Linked DNA regions of Homo sapiens: region 2 is linked to region 1. Evidence: promoter capture Hi-C in human tissues and cell types (Jung and others, 2019). All regions are on one chromosome and are shown on one strand. Each heading gives the region's core, a stretch centred on a gene start or on the middle of the fragment in contact. The rest is flanking DNA. Distances are from core to core; before and after follow the strand shown.

Region 1 (5,453 bases), core at 1,684-4,183:
ACCAAAATCAGGAACAGCGGCAAAACTGGTTTCACTGAAGAAGACACACGTTTGGAGACATGTGTAGTCTCCAAGGATTCTCACTTAACAAAGCCTATTTCTGTTGTTAAAAACCCCTGCATAATGCACCCACACACAAACACAAGGCTTGGTCTGTGTTCCTGGCCACCTAAAGAAACTGATTCCCAGTAAGTTTAAACCTGAATGAAATGTTTCTGCAAATTCAGCCTCAAAATTCCTCCTCTACCTGGCATCCCTGGCTTGTAAACTATGTGTCTCATTAGTTCATAAACAAAGCAGCCCTGACTTTGCCTTGTACTCAACCACAGCCCTAGGAGCCAGTAGAATTTGTCCAGAGGTGCTGGGCTTTGGAGCCCAAGTGGACAAAGTCAGACCCCCTTTCCTCAGGGCAAAGCCCTCCCACAGGGCTGGGACCCCAAAGGCTATGCTGGAAGCAGGTTCAGCAGCAGGATATCAAGGGGCAAAGCTCCTAATTCAAAATCTTCCTGGCTTCTGAACAACCATTAGGATGGACAGAGAAAACTTTTGCCCTGCTCTGAGAGGGTCCCACAGGGCTTTTGGAAGCAGAGCCACCATTGAGAAATCCCTTTCAACCTGAGTAGTAATTCAGATTTTTCTCCCACTCCTGCACAACTTAATTTGCTGAATGGAAAATTCAGCCAGAAGTGATGGGCTGCTTGAAATCAACAAAACTTGACACATTCTTCCCATTTTCATTTTACTTTATTGTTAAACACATAATTGATCATTAAAATGTACTTATCAGTGAGAAAATGAAGCAGAAGCCCAAGGCACAAAACCACAGGGATATTTAATTTTAAGAGACTGAAAGTTTGTTGGTTCTACTTATATCTTAGAAATATTTCAACGAATTTGTTTTTTGGAGTCATAAAAAGTTAAAACTATCTTCATGTTTTCTCTGTCTGAGGAAGAAAAAATGAGACAAAGGGAAAATAAAAGCATTTCATGGTGGCCCATGGTTGGTGGTTTGGTACCAAAATTGTTTCATAAAGACCCAGCCAAACCCTCTTTAAAAGTTAGCAATCCTGTCGCCTCGCCACAGTTGGCCTTTTTAAAATGCTGGTTGAACTTTCATTGCTGACTTTTGCCTTCTTTTCCCAAATAGTGAAAAAAATTTTCTCATCAGCAAACTTCTATTCCCTATGATTTCCTGTAAATTCAGGCCCCTCCCATCTCAAATTTGATCATGAACATGTCTAGAACTTCAAAACGATGAAACGAATTCTCTTGCTTTTCCTTTCCAACACCCCTCTCATAACTTTCCCCTTTATTTGAGCCTTTTATGGTTACTGCGTTTTGCATGTCAACACTCCTAACACCAGCAGCCTACCCTGAAATGCCAGGCCAGGCCAAGGAGGGCCTTCCTGGCTCTCTTCCTCATCTTACTCAGGGCATCTTTGGTCGGGGAACAGTGGTGCTGGGTGACAAGCTTTCACCAATCACAGGCTTAGGGGAGTGATTTTCTTGGAGATGGGCTGGCTTGGGGAGTGCATGCCACAGAACCAAATGGGCTCTGAAGGATCCCATATCCACCCCCAGAACCCTGGGCTCATTGGATCTAATATTGTTCCTAAGGCAGAGCCCCAAAGTCACAGCAGGACTCTCATTGGTGCCCCATTAGTTGCTGAGATTGAGGGATGGTGGGCTGGAGCTCTGAGGCTGAGGAGCAACAGAAAGGGATGATGAGGGACAGGGCTGTAATCCCTAACACCCTGGCAGCTTGGTTCCAGAGCTGGACCTAGCCCCACCAGCACTGCCCTGAGCCCACCTAACCCCTTGAAGTCAGACCGTTTCTCTGGGCTGCTCCTATCACAAAATCCGAATTTGCTTGGAACAAGCGCCCTCTTAATTTGCCCCTCTCAGTTCTCTGCAGTTGACAGCTTGGAAAAGGAAGCGAAACAAAGGTCCCTGGGAAAGTGAAGTTTTCAATTAATTTGGTGTGAGAAACGGGCGGGAGTGGGTGGTGACTGCAAAATGCGAGGCCGGTCGGCTGCTGGAGAGACACAGAAGTTTCACGGTGGGAGGCTGAGTGGCTTTCTCCCCCGGCGCCGTTCTCAGGGTCTTTCTGCGGGTCGAAGAAGGACCCGCGGGAGCTGAGAGGCCCAGGTCGGAAGCACTCCCGGCTGGCCCAAGAGTAGAGGCGAAGAGCGTTGAGTAGGCATCCATGGACTTTTCTTTCTGGGACAGATTGTCAGGCTCACTGCGCCGATGCCTGTCTTTCATCTGTTTAAGTCTCTGCCGCCAGCCCCAAGGGCGCTTCATGGGCATTTTCCGAACGGACAGCGTGTGTGTATAGGAAGGGTCTGCTCCAATGCCTCTTACCTGTGTGAAATGCCTTTGCCGGGTACCAGTGCACAAGGTAGGGCAAATTAGCTCACTCGGATTTGGGGTCTAGAAGTCGACTAACTGAGGGATTCAGCAACAGGATAAAAAAATGGGCCTGTTTTCACATCATTCTGATCATCTCTGTCCTTCGTCTTCATTTTGCTGTGCAACTCGGGGAGCCGAGGAGAGGTGGCAAAAACAGCGGTTGCCGAGACAAGGCGCAGGCCTTGGCGCCCGCCTCAGTCGCAGACAGGGCCTGGGATGGGCCGTCGCGCAATCAACTCGTGGGGGTGGCTGCAGCGCGTACGCCTGGGTCGGGGGGGAGGGCGGGAATGGGAGGTGGACCCTGCAAGGGGCAGGAGAGGGGTGGGGGCCGGAGTGGGTGGGTCCAGCCAGGCCTGGGCCGGGAGCCAGGCTCCCCCGCGTTCCTACCCCCACGTGGCCGCGCGCAGCCAATGGCACGCCCCCGGCGGGGGCCCTCGGGGCGGGAGGCGGCCCCCCGACCGGCCCAGGCCCCCTCCCAACCTGAACTTCGTTTTTATAAACGTCCCGCGATGAGCTAACCTGTTGGAGGGCAGGCGGGCCGGAGGCGGGAGGCTCACAGAGGGAGAGAGGGCTAGAGGAAGAGGGCGGGAGCGAGCGAACCAGAGAGAAAGGAGAGGAGGGAGGAGGCGCGCCGCGCCATGGTGTCCTGCGCGGGGCCAGGGCCAGGGCCGGGGCCGGGCCAGGCCGGGCCATGAGCCGCGCCGGGAGCTGGGACATGGACGGGCTGCGGGCAGACGGCGGGGGCGCCGGTGGCGCCCCGGCCTCTTCCTCCTCCTCATCGGTGGCGGCGGCGGCGGCGTCAGGCCAGTGCCGCGGCTTTCTCTCCGCGCCTGTGTTCGCCGGGACGCATTCGGGGCGGGCGGCGGCGGCGGCAGCGGCGGCTGCGGCGGCGGCGGCGGCAGCCTCCGGCTTTGCGTACCCCGGGACCTCTGAGCGCACGGGCTCTTCCTCGTCGTCGTCCTCTTCTGCCGTTGTAGCGGCGCGCCCGGAGGCTCCCCCAGCCAAAGAGTGCCCAGCACCCACGCCTGCAGCGGCCGCTGCAGCGCCCCCGAGCGCTCCAGCGCTGGGCTACGGCTACCACTTCGGCAACGGCTACTACAGCTGCCGTATGTCGCACGGCGTGGGCTTACAGCAGAATGCGCTCAAGTCATCGCCGCACGCCTCGCTGGGAGGCTTTCCCGTGGAGAAGTACATGGACGTGTCAGGCCTGGCGAGCAGCAGCGTACCGGCCAACGAGGTGCCAGCGCGAGCCAAGGAGGTATCCTTCTACCAGGGCTATACGAGCCCTTACCAGCACGTGCCCGGCTATATCGACATGGTGTCCACTTTCGGCTCCGGGGAGCCTCGGCACGAGGCCTACATCTCCATGGAGGGGTACCAGTCCTGGACGCTGGCTAACGGGTGGAACAGCCAGGTGTACTGCACCAAGGACCAGCCACAGGGGTCCCACTTTTGGAAATCTTCCTTTCCAGGTAGGGGCGATGGAGAAAAGGGACCGACACGAGGGAGGGGGAGAGAGAAGGAGAAAAGAAAGGACTAAGAGTATGCGCCCCTACTTGGGAGTGGGAGTTGTGCCTGTGCTCCACACGTGACCAGGGTTAACCCAGTGGAAATTTGTCCAGTTCGTGTGAAATCTGTAAATTCCTCCTCTGATTTCAACTGCCTCCGTCACTGCCCTTTCTTTCCTGTGTGCAGCGCAGACACGTTTTTCTCCTAAAGTTGAGAGTCTCTGCGTGCCCTTTCCTTGGGCCTCTCCCTTTTCTCCTAAAGAGAACTTTTTCCTAAGAAACCTGACAGAGTTGGGTCCCCCCATTTTCAAAGACATCACTGCCCCAAGATGACTACTAAAGCTTGTTAGATCAAGCTCACGAACTCCTAACATAGGAACGCGGGAAATCAAAATTTGAGCAAAAGACCTGAGTTGGTATGTGTCTATGTATGTAAGTTTGTTTTTATACAACCGACATTTGCAGAAACTGTCCTCATGAACGTGCCCAATAACCACACCATAAAATTGCAAGCTTGTTAAGATGCCGGTTTGAGAAACTATGATAATCAATCAAATTAACCATTGTTGTTAAGTGCAAATAATCCTTCTTTAATAACAGGTAAGTGTTATGTCTATGTACATAATAAAGACCAAACAGCATGGCATTTTTTAAAAATTTCCTGCACCCCTGCAAACGCACACACACACACACACACACACACACACACAATCCTCAGCTAGGTGCTCCGAATATCCCAGCCTAATTTTTCTTGTGCTTTTGTTTGTATCAGGGGATGTGGCTCTAAATCAGCCGGACATGTGCGTCTACCGAAGAGGGAGGAAGAAGAGAGTGCCTTACACCAAACTGCAGCTTAAAGAACTGGAGAACGAGTATGCCATTAACAAATTCATTAACAAGGACAAGCGGCGGCGTATCTCGGCTGCTACGAACCTATCTGAGAGACAAGTGACCATTTGGTTTCAGAACCGAAGAGTGAAGGACAAGAAAATTGTCTCCAAGCTCAAAGATACTGTCTCCTGATGTGGTCCAGGTTGGCCACAGACAGCTTAGAAGCCATTCGGTTGTCTCCAAAAGGCCTTTGGAAAGACTTGAATATGTATTTAATTCCCCCCACCCCCTGCCAATGGTGGCAAATTTTGTGAATTGTTTTTCTCTCTTCCCCTTATCTGGCTCTAAAACCTTCTGCTGCCCAACCTGACTTTGTAGTTCTGATTTTTACTTGTTTATTATTGGTTTTGTTCTTGCCTAGGGTTTTTAAAATATCTGTTTTTAATGTTTTGTTTCTCCCTCCAGGCCAGTATAAAGGGACTTGAAGTATTTTTTAATAATCCGCCCCCCAATGAACTTCAGAAGTGCCATTCTGATTTAAGGGTTTTTTTAAAAAATTACTTTATTTGTTCATTCCCAGCACTGATTATCTTCATAATCCATTAGGACAGAATGGTTTTCAGTCGTTCATATCCTGTAATTAGGTAATTGAATCATTAGCTCTCAGCAGTTGCCCTGAGGCAAGTGGAAAGGCAGGCAGTG
Region 2 (5,453 bases), core at 1,563-4,062, 410 kb before region 1:
CCAGTGCAGCCAAACAGACACTCCCACCCAGACTTTGAATTGGGGGAGACAGACCCATGGACAAAAGGATAGATGAGATGGCTGCGGCAGTGGTGGTGGCCCAGCCACAATGCTGTGACCAATAGCCCTGACAGTGTGCAGCAGTCTTGGTGATAAGGAGCACACCCACCCTTGCCCCTGCCAAGCTGGATAAAAATGTCTTTGATAAGGTGGGGAAAAGTGGGCTTTTTTTTCAATATTAAGATGTTCTCCAATTATGCTAAAAGGTGGACAATCTTAGGAATATTTGATACGGTTCAGCAAAGAGACAGAGATTCAGCTAGCATACTAACACACCAGAATTATACTGTATGTGGTTAGTCCATTTTTGCAGGAGAAAAGTTTGCTTATCTTGAAGATACTTCACCCTCAGGCAAAATAGGCAGTGTCACTGTTTTTTATCTCCTTCCTGTAGAACTGATTCCCAACTCCTACTCTAGGTTTACCAAGGAAAACTAGATGGAACTGACTGCCTGGGCCTAGCAATAACAGAGAAGCAAAACCTGGGGAAGGGAGGGCTGCCGTAAAAGACAGAGGGGACTGTAGGAAATAGAGAGAAGAAATAAGGGGGTCACAGGGTCTACCAAGTCAGACGTGCAGACATGCGTGGATGGAGAGACTGCTCTGTGGGTGGATGGGGAGACTGCTCCGTGTACGGAAGAACTGCCCATTCACATCCCCCGTTTTCTTGGCTGCTACTTAACTGGAGACATGCTCCTGCCTCTCCCTGCTCTACTCACCTCCCTTGGGAGTAGGAAAGACCTCAGAGATTGAAAGCCCCCCTGAACTCCCGCAGTCGGGAACCAGTCTATCCATTGAATGTATACATTACTCTCCTACATGTAAAATTTTTATGTGGTATGCATGGATTACCCTTCAAAGGGAAGACTAACAGATTCAGAGGGTAAGCTCAAACAGAGGCATACATTAGTAAGCTCTTTTGACTGGAGAGCTAGAGATACCAAGAACCATGCTCTCGAAGTACTGGGTTAGATGAAGGGGTTGGGCTTGATGACCTTTAAAGTCCCTTCCAGCTGGAATGTTCTATATTCTGTAAATATTCTACACTCTCTTTATTTTAAAATGCAGCTTTTAGCAACCATGGCTCTGCCACACTTTAGGCAATCTCTTTGCCATTCTGAGTCTGTTTACTCTAGTGTGCATTGAGTGAGTGACACTGTGAATTGCCCAGCCCCTGTCCATTGCCATGTCTTCCTTTTAAACATGAACCTCATTCTGTTCTAATACCCTTCACCTCTGTCCCGTGCAGTCACATGCCTCAGGGAAACCTGACCCTGCTCCCAGCCCCAGAAATGGGCCTGACTGGTCTAAAAGTAATCCCATTCCTCTTGTCAATGATCAGTTCATGAATGAGATGCAATTCTGGCCAATGAGACATGAAGGGAAACTTGAGGGGGGCATTTGGAAAAAAAAAATTCTCACTCCTAATAGAGAGCTCTAGAGGGGGAAATAATCTTTCATTTTCTTCTAGAAGTATTTGGGCTTTGTTGTGATGGCTGGAACCGCTATAGCCATCTTCCTATCAGCCTGAGGATGCATGCAACACTTGTGACAGAACACTAGGGGTCTTGATGATAATGGTGAGCCACTAAATCGATCAACACTGAAATCTTCCCACAGCTCTGAATTAAAAGAATGCATTCACAGTAGTCCCTTCTTAATGGCAAGGAACATGTTCCAAGACCCTCCAGTGGATGCCTGAAACCACCGATAGTACCAAACTCTAAATATCCTATGTTGTCCCTTATACATACACACCTATGATAAAATGTAATTTATAAATAAGGCACAAAAAGAGATGAACAACAATGGATAATAAAGTAGAGCAATTATAACAACATACTGTAATAAAAGTTCTGTGAATGTGGTCTCTGTCTCTCTCCAAATACCTTATTGTACTGTACTCACCTATTTTGGAACCACTGTTTCAGAAAGCAAAACAGCAGATAAAGAGAGACAAATGTACTTGTTATTAAAGACACTTTGAGTTGAGTTTTCTGTTACTTGCAGCCTAATACATCCAACTGATAGGGTGGAGTTAAGAATACCTTCAAAGCATAATTGTAAGGGCCTGAGGAGATAAAATAGATAGAAATGCACTGTAAAATGTTAAGTAGCATATAAAACGAATATGTTTTTATTATTGAGTGCTTAATTCTCTGTCTTCCACATCTTCATAAGTGTCATTTTTTTCAAGATCTTTAAAACAAAACAATTTCCAAATATAATTAATATTACCTCAACATAAGTGGAGAATGATAAGATAGCAAATAGAAAATTGATCCTGGGTTTTCTGTGATAACTGCAAGACCTGGCCAGCAGAATGGCCTGGCACTCCTGTTACTGTCCTTGGCAGAAGTCCTACTCTGGCCCTTCCATCTAAGTGCCCAGACTAATTGAGCCTTTCATGAGTATTTCCTTTTACTACTTTACTTGTGCATCTGTGTATCATTTTCTTTCTGTTCTCCCTTAAACTCCCCATTGTAATCCCACTGACTAGAATGACACTCAATAGCAAAGGCAGGGATAATAAGGTCAAAATATAGTCTGAAATCAGCCCTGGACTCCTGCAGCTGCGCCACTTGCTAATTCACTTGGAACTTTATAGATGGCTTTTCTCTTTCCCATCACAGAGCAAATAACAATGCTGAGGAGGTTGAGATAGGACTGCACTCTGCTCCTCTCTGTGTACTATTTAATTCTAGGCATGTTTTCAGCTGGGGATTTATAGCAGAACAAGACAGTGCGTGAAATATCTTTCCTTTATTTTTAAATGATTAGTAAGTAAGAATGTACCTCTAAGACAAAGGGGGTATATAAAGTCCAACTGCTTTTGCCAGCTGTGCCAATTTGCCTAATCCTAGAAATCTGTTATTATCTCATTTTTAATCTCAAATATGAAGTTTAGTTTTAGGAGGATCTTTGCCTAACAGAAGGAACAATTGAGATGAAAATCTCTGATTCCTATGAAATACACTGCTCTTGGAAAACTTTGCATGGATTTCTGATATACACAGAGATTTCTATGAAGTATGACCACACACACACACACACACACACTTCAGATCCCAAGACTTCAAGAGACCTCAGAGATAGAGCTACCTAGCCCAACACCTTCCTTGGAAAAAGTCAAGAGCCAAAAAGGCCAAATGACTTGCCAAATATCATACTTCCTGCCCAAGATTGCAGGCAACGGCAGTAAAAGGAATCACAATGACAGCCATTATTAATTTAGTTCGTACTAAGTGCTTTGCATTCATTAATTTAGGTCTCAGAATAACCCTATGTAGCTGGTGCTATTTATCCTAATTTTAGAAATGAGAAAGGGAAACCTTGGAGATACTAAATATTGTCCAAAATCTAACAGCCAATGGTTTTGAAAACCAGTAAAGATAGTTTTCAGAGCTATAAGGCAACTCTAAAGTCTATGTGCATAGCCACCCTACCAGGCTATATATTATACCAGAATCTAGTAGATGCTATCTTATTTTACCATACCAAGACGGCACCTATACTCAGAAGAAAATGGAAATAAAAGTAAGACATTATGTTTTAAACTTTTATAGCTCTTTGTGGTTACTGAGTTCTAACTAATATTCACCCTATTATAGAGAAAAAAATGAGCCTCATAATATGATCTGAACCTACTTAATGGTTGTATATATTAAAATAGCTTCTAGACAAGATACAACCAGGTCTCTTTTCAAAATACAACATCCTCTTTCCTTAAAGCTCTAAAAGATTGTTAGAAACAAGAGTAGGCTTCTTTTTCTTCTTTAAGTATTAAAACGAAACACCTTGACTGTATCCTTTCAAATCTCCCCTATTTATCAGGCTGACATTTTGAAATTTGGGTTTGCTATGAAAATAGCTTATCCAATGAGAGAGCATTGTGTTGGGCCAATGTCTTTTTTGAGTGCTGTGACTCTCGGTTTCATTGTTCTGTTTTGCTGCAGAATTATCATTGCTATTTTTGAATCACTGCTGTAGACTTGTCAGCTTTGAACCACTCCTCTTGGCTGCATGGGCTCCAGTCGCCTTTTCAATCCTACTGATGAGCCATCCCACGTGTAATATTTTTATGGCTTCTCATCTATTTATAATTGCTTCTCAAAAACTAGAAAATTGTGTTTGTGCCCTACTTTTTTCCCCAACCTACATTACCCCTCTGACTGAAGTAATAACCTGTCATGCTTAAACAATTAGCGTAATGCAGAGGACACTCGGGCCTCCTATACAGTGCTAATGGATCTCCAAATGTGGCTTTAAAAAGTCAGATAAAAATGTGTTTTACATGGGCCAGTGCTGGATTTTGGCAAACCACCTTTACACACACGTTGCTGACATAGGATCATCACGTTGGGTGCTTCCCAAGGGGTGGCAAGCTTCCTCCACCTGAAGTCTGAGACTCAGCAGGGAGATGCCTATGTCTCAAAAACACTACTAGTACATACATCAGAATTGTCATTTTATGCTTAGTGTGACATTATAATAGTATAATGTCCATGTCTTCTAACCAATGCTGATTTCCTGAATATGGTTCTAAGACACATTTCTGGCTTTAATCATGCAAGACTTGCTCTCATTTATTCACTCATTTACTCATTCATTCATTCACTAACTCAAGTATTGATGAGCAAAGTTTCCCAAGGCCCTTATTCCATAATATTCCCAATTTAAGAACTATATTATCAAACATTTCTGCATTGAATTCTGAACCTCTATCTTTTAATAAAAATGTAAATAATGGATGACATTTGTAAGTTCTTAGGGAGAAGCAGCATAATACAGATGTTAAGAGCATGGACTCTGGAGCCAGCGTACATGAGCTTGAATTTTAACTTTGCCACGTAACTAGCTATGTGATCTTAGGGAGACTACTCAACCCCTCTGGGCCTCAGTTTCCTTACCTGTAAAATGGGAATAATTATAGTATCTTTTTTTCATATGGTTGTTATGAGGATTAAATTAGTAAATGCAAGAAAAGCTCTTAAAACAGAGCACACATTAAGTGCTTCTTGTTATTATGCATCAAGCACTGTGCTAAGCATGTCACATAAATTATCTCAATTTAATCTATAACAGAGGGATTTTAAAAAATCCAAGTTTAGAAATGAGAAAACCAAGGCCTTAGAAAGGTTCAGTAACCTGCCCTAGGCTGCGCAGGTATAGTTAGGAGTAGAGCCAAGATTCTAACTCAGGCATTCTGTGAACAGAGCCCATTTGCTTAAGAACTCTGCTATACAGCCCTGACATCAAGCTTTCCAACCAACCTGGGTTAGGTCACGTGTGGTGTGATTTGACTTAGCTTGGGCTCAGTTTATGAAATTATTATAAAAGTAAATAGCCCTTTAGAGAGTGTAGCTCTCTAACCAGCAGCATGGCCTCATGTA

What was found. Contacts are between HindIII fragments. The study calls those that stand out against the background at their distance.
Region 2: a fragment that was not itself captured here is called in contact with the fragment with the promoter of HOXD13 in region 1 in 1 of the 25 tissues and cell types used here (mesenchymal stem cells).

Annotation. Positions count from the first base shown.
Region 1 is chr2:176,089,788-176,095,240 of GRCh38, forward strand. HOXD13 (homeobox D13) reads left to right here and starts at 2,934. Exons shown (of 2, transcript NM_000523.4): 1 at 2,934-3,884; 2 at 4,693-5,453. The coding sequence starts at 3,104. The coding sequence ends at 4,943. The HindIII fragment of the contact is 2,672 bases long and covers 2,867-5,453 here.
Region 2 is chr2:175,675,392-175,680,844 of GRCh38, forward strand. The region is part of intron 3 of LOC107985962 (a long non-coding RNA gene); the gene reads right to left. Among named protein-coding and RNA genes, the nearest start is that of LNPK, 320 kb to the right of the region's middle. The HindIII fragment of the contact is 4,139 bases long and covers 744-4,882 here.